Linked DNA regions of Homo sapiens: regions 1 and 2 are each linked to region 3. The links are contacts of gene promoters, found by promoter capture Hi-C in human tissues and cell types (Jung and others, 2019). All regions are on one chromosome and are shown on one strand. Each heading gives the region's core, a stretch centred on a gene start or on the middle of the fragment in contact. The rest is flanking DNA. Distances are from core to core; before and after follow the strand shown.

Region 1 (3,835 bases), core at 366-2,865, 220 kb after region 3:
TCAACGAATACCCGAGTTGCTTCTACCTCTTGGCTGTTGTTAATAATGAACATGGATGTACAAATATTTCTTCAAGACCCTTCTTTCAATTCTTTGTAGTATATACCCAGAAACGGAATTGCTGAATCATATGAATTATCACATAATTATATTTTTAATTTATAATACTGTTTCCACACACAACAATAGCATTTTTCATTCCCATCAACCCTGCACTAGGGTTCTATTTACTCCACATCTTTACCAACAATTATTACAATTATTATATTCTGGTTTTTTTGGTAGTAGCCATCCTAATGGGTGTAAGGTGGTATCTCATTGCAACTTTGATTTGCATTTCCTTAATGATTAGTGATGTTGAGCATCTTTTCATGATTTTTGTTTGTTTGTTTTTGGTTTTGGTTTTGGTTTTTGAGATGGAGTCTCACTTTGTCGCCCAAGCTGGAGTGCAGTGGCACGATCTTTGCTTATCTCAAGCTCCGCCTCCCAGGTTCACGCCATTCTCCTGCCTCAGCCTCCTGAGTAGCTGGGACTACAGGTGCCCACCACCACGCCAGGCTAACTTTTTGTATTTTTAGTAGAGACAGGGTTTCATCGTGTTAGTCTGGATGGTCTCGATCTCCTGACCTCGTGATCTGCCTGCCTCGGCCTCCCAAAGTGCTAGGGTTACAGGCATGAGCCACCGCGCCCAGCCCTGTTCATGTTTTTATTAGCTATTTTTATATCTTCTTTGGAGAAATGTTTATTCAAGTCTTTTGCTCATTTTTGAATTGGGTTGTTTGTCATTGAGCTGTAGAAGATCTCTATACAGTCTGGATACTAATCCCTTATAAAATATATTATTTACAAATATTTTCACTATTGTGTCAGTTGCCTTTTTACTCTGTTGATAGTGCCTTTTGATGCATGATTTTTAAAAATGTCCATGAAGTTCAAATTTGTCTGTTTTTCCTTTTGTTTTCTATGCCTTTAATGTCATTGCCAAATTCAATGCTATGAAGCTTTTACTCAATGTTTTTTTTCCTAAGGACTTTATAGTTTTAGGACTGACATTTAGGTTCCTGATTCATTTTGAACTAATTTTGTATTCCAACTTCTTTCATTTGCATATGGATATCTAGTTTTTCCAACACCATTTGTTGAAAAGACTATTCTTTCCCCACTGAATGGACTTGGCACCCTAGTCAAAAATCATTTGATCATATATGTGAGGGTTTACTTCTAGGTTCCCTATTCTGTTCCATGGGTCTGTATACCTGTCTTTATGCCAGTTCCACATTGTTTGATTACTGTCGCTTTGTAGTAAGTTTTGAAACCAGGAAGTGTGAATCCTCCAGTTTGGTTTGTCTTTTTCAAGGCTGTTTTGGCTATTTGGGACCCCTTGAGAGTCTGTATGAATTTTAGGTTGGCGTTTTTTATTTCTGCAAAAAAATGTCATTGGGATTTTGATAGGAATTGCGTTGAATCTATAGATAGATTTGGGTAGTGTTGACATCTTAACAATAGTAAGTTTTCCAGTCTATGAACATGAGATGTGCTTCCAATTACCTGTATCTTTACTTTTTCAGCACTGTTTTATAGTTTTCATTGCACAAGTCTTTCTCCTTCTTGGTTAAGTTGGTTTCTAAGTATTTTATTCTTTTTGATGCTATCTAAGTCCATTTTGGCTTCCCGAACAAAATATTTTAGACTAAATAATTTATAAACAATAGAAATGTATTGCTCACAGTTCTAGAAGCTGAGAAGTCAAAGATCAAGGTGCCAGCAGATTCATAGGTATCTGTTGGCAGCCTACACTTCATAGATGACACTTTCTTGCTAGTCCTCATATGACACAGAAGACAAATAAGCTCCCCTAGGCCTCTTTTACAAAGACATTAATCCCATTTATGAGGGCTTTGCCCTTATGACTTAATCACCTTCCAGATGTCCCACCTCTCAGCTCCACTGCGCTGATTGTTAAATTTCAACACATGAATTTTGGAGGGACACGAACATTCAGATCATAGTAGGTGTTACTGTAAACAGAATTGTTTTCTTTCCTTTCTTTTTCTTTCTTTCTTTTTTTTTTTTTTTTTGAGATGGAGTTTTGCTGTTGTCATCCAGGCTGGAGTGCAGTGACACAGTCTCAGCTCAGTGCAACCTCCACCTCCCGGGTTCAAGCAATTCTCCTGTAATTGGGATTATAGGTGCCTGCTACCATGCCCAGCTAATTTTTGTATTTTTAATAGAGACAGGATTTCACCATGTTGGCCAGGCTGGTCTCGAACTCCTGATCTCAAGTGTTCCTCCCGCCTCGGCCACCCAAAGTGCTGGGATTATAGACATGAACCAATGTGCCAGGCCTAAAATTGTTGTCTTAATTTCTTTTCCAAATTGTTCATTACTAATATATTGAAATCTAACTTAGTTTTGTGTTTACTTTCCATCCTGCTACTTTGCTGAACTCACTTATTAGTTCTAACAGGATTTTTTTTATGTGAAAATTTTAGGTTTTCTACGTATAATATCATCCGCAAGCAGAGATAATTTTACTTCTTCTTTTCTAATTTGCATGCCTTTTCTTCCCCTTGCTTAATTGTTCCAGCTAGAATTTCCAGTACTACATTGAGTAGAAGTGGTAAAAGCCTGTGTGATTGACTCTTGTCGACATCTATGCTATTGTTACAAATCACAGAAGGTCAGCTTCTGTATCTGTTCACATTTTGCCAGCCACTGATGAACTAATCTAGATTTAATAATAGTTAACAATTACATAAGTATAAAATTTCACTTTTTATGAAAAAACTTTACATGTTTAAAATCATTTGAACCTCATAGCAACCCTGTGCAGTATTACTGCCCCTAGATGGGAACAAGTATCAAAGGGGTTAAATAATTGATTTATAGCAAAAAAGATGATATATTAAATTATGGTATTAAGCTATATTTTTTATCTGCCCTAAATTCTATCCCAACCTTTTTCTTTTCTTTCCTTTTTTTTTTTTTGAGACAGGGTCTCACTCTGTTGCCCAGGCTGGAGTGCAATGGCGTAATCTCAGCTCACTGCAATCTCCGCCTCCCAGGCTCAAGTGATTCTCAAGCTTCAGCCTCCCAAGTAGCTGGGATTACAAACACGGACCACCATGCCCATCTAATTTTTGTATTTTTAGGAGAGATGGGGTTTTACCATGTTAGCCAGGCTGGTCTCCAACTCCTGACCTCAAATCCAGCTCCTGACCTCAAATGATCTATCTGCCTTGGCCTCCCAAAGTGCTGGGATTACAGGTGTGAGCCACCATGCCTGGCCCCTAGTCTCTTTTCTTATTTCTGTGGTTCCCTTGTTCCCATTCCAGGTTGTCTCAATGAAGCTGGTGACTATGGTGGCCCCTCTTCATCCCAGCAATTAGGTGTGCATATGACCCTAGATGGCCAGAGCATCTTAATTCTCTTAACCACTTTGATTAGTTTAGAGATTGACACAAGACTCTAGCAAAGTTAGTCAATCATTCCTGAATTAATATTTAAATTTTGGAAGAGACATTTCCTTCTCATGGGATTGCTGAACTGAGAGAAGACAAGTCTAGGACAAGTGTAGGGCTCCCAGTTGCTGTCTTGTTCATAACATGGAAAGAGCTTGTGTATTTAATAAAGTCTAGCAGAGACAAGCAGAACCAACAAATAAAATACAATTACCTAAGAAAGTCCTGCTGCCTTTTTTGTTTGTTTGTTTACCATAGAATCCAGCGAAACCCAAAGGACCACTCTGGCAGCTATGGAGGACAGGCAGTAGGGATCTAAAGCAGAAGTCAGGGCAATCTAGAAAACTAGTGCAGCAGAATAACTTGGTAGCTAT
Region 2 (4,018 bases), core at 1,509-4,008, 180 kb after region 3:
GAAAGGAAAAGAGTTTCAAAAACTTATGTGTGTTTTCCTCTCCCTATTGCTCACTCTAGAATCAGCAGTTTAATCGATATTTTAGTGGCACTGTCTATCTTGATGGGCTACTCTGTCACCACCGCCAGCTTTGTCACCTATGTTGTAAGGGAACATCAAACCAAAGCCAAACAGTTGCAGCACATTTCAGGCATTGGCGTGACATGCTACTGGGTAACAAACTTCATTTATGACATGGTGAGTAACTTATGTCCTTCATTGCAGGGAATAAAAGATCAATTTGGATAGAAGACATCAGTTTTCTATTCAAGAGTTATTTACTCTAGTTTGTTCAAATTGTTATCACAAAGACAGGAAATAAAGAAAATGACTTGAGTCAGGCTTATCTTCATCCAGTGGTTGGAGGAAACATAACCTACCGGCCCTCATCTCTGTGGACTATATCAGATTCTCTAGGGCACTTAAAATGAGGATTTCTGGGCCTCACTCCAGATCTGTTAAATTCATATCTTAGGAGGGGAGCGTGGAGAACATGCATTTTTAAAAAGATCCCCCAGGTGATTCTAAGCACGCTGAAGTCTTACAGTCAGTACTGTGGAGAAATAGAAGCTTAGCAGCAAAATATCCTTACGTAATTGTGCCAAACAATCAAGCTTATAAAAATTTAATCAACTAATAGTGGAAAATGCGAAGTAGTAGCCCCTGCTAATGACACATTAGAGAAGATTAGTAGGAAAAAGAAGGGATGTATTTCATTGATAGCTCTCTCATTTGCATAAAATGGTCCCAAGTTCAGATGGTTGTTCTGGACTCCAAACATACCAATGTTGGCCAAAAGCCCAGGATGGGTATGCATTTGCCTGGTGATTATGGTGAAATTGTCTGAGTTGCTGTCAAGATCATCGGCTTAAAGGGTTGGAGAGTAATTAACTGCATATCCATTTTGTTAATGTATCCAGTGAGGTCTAAAATGTGTTTGTTGTAGAAGTCAAATCTAAAAGAATAGTAATGACTTCTCAGGACTTAACAGGAGCTTTAATGTTAAGAAAATTTCAAGTACATACTTCTGTGAAGGTCTACTTAGTACTTTAGGATTCTGTTGTCTTATATCTGGAGCTCATTCCAATTTAGGAGATTCCTCCCCACCCTGCAAATTAAGTTACCACCACCTTCATTGTGTCCATCTTCCTGCAAACTCCTCAGCATTTAATAAATATTTCTACTTGCCAACAAAATGCTAAGTTCTTTGTTCGTATACCTGTGATTATGAGGATATGTGGGACCTGATGCCCTGCTGCTTTGCACAGAGTGGTTCACACTGATAACCAAGCTTTAGAAATCAACCATCTGAGAAAGTTCCAGCATTCAAAACGAAATCAATACTTTGAGGACTGAATGTAATACCAAGATACCTGGCTGTCTTATCTTTCTCACTGAACCTCTGTCACTGAACCATCCCAAGTCTCAAAGCCTAGAGGCAGGAACACCAGGGACTCCTTGTATATCTGTTAAAGATGGAGATTGGCTTAACCTCATATTGCAGGAGACAAATTCTAAAGTGAAATCAATGTAAAATAAGTTGAATGTTAGAAGCAATGGGAACATAAATAAGAATTCATTTCTTCAAATTTTTCTAGGTCAACTTGTTGCAGTTTTAAACTAGATGGGTTATTGATTTTTTTTTTTTTGAAAAATGCTTGTCACGTATTAAACATTGTTTTGAATATTTCCATAGGTTTTCTACTTGGTGCCTGTAGCGTTTTCAATTGGTATCATTGCGATTTTCAAATTACCTGCATTCTACAGTGAAAACAACCTAGGCGCTGTATCTCTCCTACTTCTCCTGTTTGGGTAAGCTGCTGATTAAGCAATGAAAGAAGAATTAATAGAATTAAATGCCCCTAGACACAAATAGGACTTAAATCTCATTAGCTAAATTACAATTGTCTTGGGGTTTCATTTGACATGAGTGATGACTAACAACACATTGCACTTGCTAGTCCATAGACTGCAAAGTATAATACTTTTGAAAATTAATGTTGTTATTAATAGTAATACCTAAAATTAATAAGCATTTATTGGGTGCCAAGTGTCATGCTTTCTAATTTACATATGTGATCTCATTTACATAAAAATGAAAGCTTTAGAATGATGAGAAAATGTGTATACATGTATAAATTTATGTATTGACTATATGAGTATATGTAGCATTATGAAGTGCATATACCTTCATGTATACTTACTTATATTTATCTTTTTATAGATGTATAAGGACACACACATAATATTGTTTCTATCTTAAGCTAATACAGGTAACACAGGCTGATATAATCAATGCTTAGCATAACAAATCTTTCTGCCCTGAATACATGGTAGTAACCCTTAATTAGCAATTGTAGCTAATGCAGGAACTCTGTCTCTAGATCTATTTAATTGCCCCCCAAATTGCTCAAGGTTTTGCTCAAAACAGGCTAGCCAGCTTCTAAGCATGCTCTTTCTGCTCAGCTAGACTTGAACAGTGTCATTACTTTTCCTCAACTTTAAATTATAAGATTTATACTGATTAAACTCATATTTCTGAGCAACCTAAAAGGCTTGCCTAGGCGGGATAATACCATATTCAGGAGGGATTAATTTGTAGTTTTAATGATGTAGAACTACTCAAGGTTTCTTAAAGAGGCTTTTTACTGTCTTTAAAAAAAACTCTTTGGATTTTTTTTGTCAAAAAGGAATGAAAGAGAGATCTAGTTAGAAGGCTTGACAACTCATCCCTAATGGTTATTTTTACTTTGGAAGCCCATCTAAATTGTTATTTTTTGTAAAATAGAATAATTAAGGCATTTCTTTTCTGAGACAGGATCTCACTCTGTCACCCAGGCTGGAGTGCAGTGGCATGATCACAGCTCACCACAGCTTGATCCTCCGACCTCAGCCTCCCAAATAACCAGGGCTACAGGTGCGTGCCACCGCACCTGGCTGATTTTCATATTTTTCTGTAGAGACAGGGTTTTGCCAAGTTGCTCAGGCTGGTCTCAAACTCCTGGGCTCAAGTGATCCACCTGCCTCAGCCTCCTAAAGTGTTAGGATTACAGGTGTGAGCCACCATGCCTGGCCGAGGCGTAATTTTAATTCTTTGTGTTTTTAACCTGCAGGTATGCAACATTTTCCTGGATGTACTTGCTGGCTGGGCTCTTCCATGAAACAGGAATGGCCTTCATCACTTACGTCTGTGTCAACTTGTTTTTTGGCATTAATTCCATTGTTTCCCTGTCAGTGGTATACTTTCTTTCCAAGGAAAAGCCTAATGATCCGGTAAGGTCCCTTATTTCAGTGAATTTATCAAAAGCTTCAACATGTTCCAGGTGGAAAGATTTTATTTATTCTACATAAAAAAGAAGAATATCATTTGATTCTATTAAATTTGGGAGAGGAGAAACTACAGCTTTTAAAATTCTTTTTGGGCCTCATCTAAGTTAATGCCTATCATTGTATGTATTGAGCGTCAAAACTATTGACACCTGATAGGGCTTGAATGTGGTGACAGAGGTGAAATCAGATGTATTGTGCGGCACTACATAAATCACGCAACCATTGGTCAGCTAAACATCTTACTCATTAACAAGTTCTTATGGTATGGTGGTGACAAGGACAACGACTTAGTTATATGACTGTGAGCTTTGATTCATTTGAACATTCATAGAGAAAAAACCTAATTCATCCCCTTTCAATCATGTATTGGAGACTACTTCATTGTAAGCATCACTTTCCATTCAGAGCTGACAATTACGATTAGTGAGAAGAGAAGCACTAACAGTGTCAGGCAATTGAACAGAAAAGAATAGAGAGGAAATGAAGTGAACTGAGGACTAGACAAGCATACTCTGGGAGAAGGAAGAAAATTCATGAAGTGGAAGTAGTTGGCCCACGTGTGAATAATGTGAAAATGAGCTATTTGTCCCTCTTCGAGACATGTTGGCTCTTCTTCTACCTCATTTCAGCATTTTAGTCCCTCTCCAAG
Region 3 (4,418 bases), core at 1,605-4,104:
GGGTGGAGTCCCACCCTTCTTATAAAAGAAGGATGCTGTTATTTTTACCATGAGTTAGCTTCAATTTCCCAACTTGTTGCACATTTCCACCTAGGTTAAATGTGTGCACTTGCTGTGTTTTCTTACCCATGCTTGCTTTATTAGGGCCTGTTGGAGAACAGGTTTTGCAGACACAGAAACCTGGGTTCAAATTAATGTTCTGACACCCATTATCTGTGTGACCTCAGGAAGCTACTTGTCCTATGCATCTTCACGTATACAGCAGGTAAAATAATGTTGACCTCACAGGTCCTGTATGCAATGAGTATCCCATAGCACCTTAATGTAAAAGTCAGTTGATGGTAAAACAAACAAACAAACAAAGTTGTCACTGATGCTATACACAACAACCAGTGCTGAGACAAAGGAGTAAAATTATAATCTGGTTGCTGTTAAAATTTCTGAACTGTTTTACATCATCACTAACTCAATTCACTTGTTTTTTCTATTCAAAAACAGGGTTTCAAGTCTCAACTTCAATCAGTTTCTCATTCTACTAACATTTTCATCATCCCACAGCATCGGCTTTATCATACTCTATCTCTTAAGAAGAGTTTCCAGGAACTTTTCATTTTAAATCCGCAATATGACATCTCCTCCTCTTTGGCTTTAGGTCCCTAACTCTCCAACTTTATCTTCTACTACTTCAGACCAGCTCTTAGATTTAGTTGGGTCAGAATTCTCACCATTCAGGAATACAGAATTTATCTCAAAATTGTGGTGTTCCATGAGACTTGGTCCCTGTACTCAAGGGGCTCAGAGTATGGACAGAGAGACAGACTGACTATACTAGAAGGTAATAAGGGAGTTGGCTATCTGTGCGAACAAAGCTTTATGGGAAAACAGATGAAGGGGTGATTAATTCAGCCGGGGGTGGGGGTGTGGTGGGTGGAAGTGCTGGAAAAGGCTTCAGAGGGGAAGTTACACTTGAGTCAGTCATTTGAGAATGAGCACAATTTCATTTTGGGCAGAGGGAACAGCATGACCAAAGCCTGAAAGTGAACAGTCCTCATCTAAAGTATTCTAGCAGATGGCAGGAGGGAGGGCTGAAGGTGGAGAGACAACTGATGAAGCTGGCAAGAGCCAGGCTGGGAAGTGCCGTGAGGCTCTATGAAGAAGCCTAAAAGAGCAGCCTTCCTTCTCCTGAATTCCTGGAGCAACTACTCTTTGTGAACTCATTTTGGCCATAATTTTTCATGCGTGTACTTACAAAAAAATCTCTACAAGTGATTTATAGACCTGCCTAGAGAAACAGGGAAAATCCCTGATGTTCATTTGTTTCTCAGCTCTTCCTGTGAAGTGTAATACATGGGACTGGAGAAAACATAGCACAGAGATTAACAGTACAGAAACGAGGTTCGAGTTCCTTCTCTGCTGTTCCCACTGTCCTCACTGCTAACTAGGTGAAATCCAGCAAGTTATGGCACTTCTAAATATCACTTTCTTTCACTGAAAATGGGAATAATGACAGTTTCTATATAATAGGACTCCTAGGATGATTCAATAAGTCCTTAGCAAACATTGCTACCCAATTAATAGAATTAATTGACTACTTACTATGAGGCAGGACCTGTGCTAGATTCCTTTTTTTGGAGGGGGGATGGAATCTCACTCTTTTGCCCAGGCTGGAGTGCAGTGGCGCCATCTCAGCTCACTGCAACCTCTGCCTCCCGGTTTCAAGCGATTCTCCCTCCTCAGCCTCCCAAATAGCTGGGATTACAGGTGCCCACCACCATGCCTGGCTAATTTTTGTGTTTTTAGTAGAGACGGGGTTTCACCATGTTTGCGAGGCTGGTCTTGAACTCCTGACCTCAAGTGATCAGCCCGTCTCGGCCTCCCAAATTGCTGGGATTACAGGCATGAGCCACCGCACCTGGCGAAGGGAGAACTCTTAATGCTTTAACGGATTTTGCAAGTAAAGTCTGGATTAGTCAGGGTAGGTGTGAGGATCAAAGGGGAGCTTCACCCTACTAGCCTTGGCTCCAGTAGTTTATTCAATTACATTCAGCAGCAAGTATTGAACACTAATGATATGTAAAGTACTGTGATATAAAATAGTCCATGTCCTCAAATAATTTATAATCTTGTAGGAAAAATAAGACATACACAAATAAAAATAATGCAAAAACTTTAAGTTCCTTGAGAGAGGGCAACAAAGAATGATTCAAAGGCAAGAGAATCTATCCTATGGGATATATCCAAAAAGGCTTCATTGAAGATGTCAACTTGGGGATAACTTTGAAAGGCAGGATCTTAGAGAGGGAGGAATGTATCATGGAAAGAGGAAATAGAAATGTCTTGGATCAGCCTGTGTCCCCTTTCACTATAAGAGCCTGAAACAATGTGGCTTGTCTGTAATAGACACGTGAATCTCCACTCACGAATTGAGGGACTCCAGTTTGTAATTTATGTCCCCTACAGCCTACCTTTCCTTTTCTGCCCTGTGCTTAACCTAGTACATTGTGATGAAAGGTGGGACCTGGCCAACATAGTTTCTTCCCCCAAAATCGAAACATTCAACTTTAGGTTAAAGGTGGACACTTTCCCTAGTATATCTAATGATGGGCTGAGGCTCAGAGCTTTGCAGCTAAGCTCTGGCCTTATTGACTTAAATCATTTTAATGACACTTTAATATTAAAGAGTCACTGGGCCCAGTGTCTGTGAAATGCTCTCTGTGCCCTGCCTCTGCTAGAGCAGACACTGTGTGCAGGAAAGAAGACAAGAGAATGTAGGACAAGTCCTACTGGCCTTGCAAAGGTCCCACCCCCTAGTCCCTGTGACGCATCCAGTGCAGGTGACATGTTCTCTAAGGTGTGGATAGGCAATTAATTTCATGGAGAGTAGGAGGTGTGGGTTCAGCTGCTGCTTTTTTTTTTTTTTCAGTGAGGCATTATCTGAATGATGCTCATTCTCTCTTGAGTCTGGACTTCGTGCAACAAGCAGCAACTGGATATTATTTTAAAATAAGCATAAGCCACCCAAAGATACTGATCTGGGTCCTTCTTTTGGAAGAAGAGTTGATTGAGAAGTGCCTCTTGGTTAAGGATTAACCACAGGGAAAAATCCAGCAGAAACAGAAGAACTGTGGGTTTCTTACCCCAGCCCTCAAGGAAGCTATGCCGTGAAAGGGGTACTGATACACTGACATACAGCAAGTTGGACGGGGCATCAGTTCTTCATTTGTGGAGTGGAGAAAAGAAGAGGAAATCTCTCATTTGGGGCATTTGAAGGATGGCTTCCCTGTTTCATCAGCTTCAGATCCTGGTCTGGAAAAATTGGCTAGGTGTAAAAAGGCAGCCGGTGAGTTAAAAAAAAGTGTGGGAGTATGGGTCATGGGGCAATACGCCAGGTAATCCTAAAATGTGATCTTAATGAGAAGTGAAAACAGAAGAGTTTAAAGGCATTTTCCAAAGCAGGAAGTAAGATATTTAGAATTCATCCCCCTATCTGTCTTATAGCTAATGGAGCGAGTCTTAACATGCCCCCAAAAGCAGCCTTTTCATTTCAGTAAATTAAAGAGTAAACCAGGACATGCCCTGGGCAAAAAAAAAAGAACATGACTCATTACTGGCTGAACTGGAACGTTGAATTCTGGTTTCAAGCCAAAAGGCTTTCAGAATTTTTCTTAATGTAGTTAAAAATGGGATAGAGGAAAGAAAAGTATTATTTGAAATGTACAATAAATGGGAAGAAATATACTGGAAAACTGAAAGCCATAGAAAGTTTGGTTGAAAGGTAAAATACAGAACAGAAATAGTTTGAAGGCTATTAGTATAGAAAAGCTACTGAGAAATTTTAGTATCTAAAAATCATTTACTGGGAATACCAAACAAGAGTATGTATATGTGCTATGTTTTAAGAATATTATTGAATCACTTAGCTTTACTACTACAATCTATCTTCTCTTGCTCATTGCAACGTCTTTTTTGTACTCTTACATTAATGTTTGCGTTCTAATTACAAAGTTAGCTATTAGATCCTCATCAGATGGCTCCCAGGATGATTGAGAAAGGAATTGGTTTCTGGGAGTTGTTATATATTCAGAAGAATGTTTGAAAATCGGGGAAATCCAAAAAGGTATTCAATATACTTTATTTTAAAGTGGTAATTCCCAGCCTTGAATGAGTAATGTAAATATTATGCAAATAATATGCATCACACAGAAACCAGCACTTTATCTATGCACCTTATCTCGCTCCAGGCTTGCTTGGATTGCCTGACACTTTACTTGAGTGTTTTGATGTGTGTAGTAAGAGGAGGAAGTAGATGTTCATTTACCCTTGTGAATTTTGTGGGTAGGGTTTTAAAATTCTAAGGCATGTGATTGCATGGGTGTGGGGTTTGAATATAAAATTATAAACTCATTCATGTTTTTATT

The links. The method cuts DNA at HindIII sites, captures the fragments that hold promoters and counts their contacts. A contact is called where the count stands out against the background at its distance.
Region 1: a fragment that was not itself captured here is called in contact with the fragment with the promoter of ABCA12 in region 3 in 2 of the 25 tissues and cell types used here (mesendoderm cells and spleen).
Region 2: a contact is called between a fragment that was not itself captured here and the fragment with the promoter of ABCA12 in region 3, in 2 of the 25 tissues and cell types used here (pancreas and spleen).

The regions. Positions count from the first base shown.
Region 1 is chr2:214,916,949-214,920,783 of GRCh38, reverse strand. All of the region lies in intron 2 of SNHG31 (small nucleolar RNA host gene 31), which reads right to left. Among named protein-coding and RNA genes, the nearest start is that of SNORA70I, 72 kb to the right of the region's middle. The HindIII fragment of the contact is 5,514 bases long and covers 1-3,835 here.
Region 2 is chr2:214,954,496-214,958,513 of GRCh38, reverse strand. ABCA12 (ATP binding cassette subfamily A member 12) reads left to right here. Exons shown (of 53, transcript NM_173076.3): 41 at 60-237; 42 at 1,736-1,851; 43 at 3,153-3,312. The region is part of intron 3 of SNHG31 (small nucleolar RNA host gene 31); the gene reads right to left. Among named protein-coding and RNA genes, the nearest start is that of SNORA70I, 110 kb to the right of the region's middle. The HindIII fragment of the contact is 3,531 bases long and covers 993-4,018 here.
Region 3 is chr2:215,137,062-215,141,479 of GRCh38, reverse strand. ABCA12 (ATP binding cassette subfamily A member 12) reads left to right here and starts at 2,854. Exons shown (of 53, transcript NM_173076.3): 1 at 2,854-3,340. The coding sequence starts at 3,272. The HindIII fragment of the contact is 12,690 bases long and covers 1-4,418 here.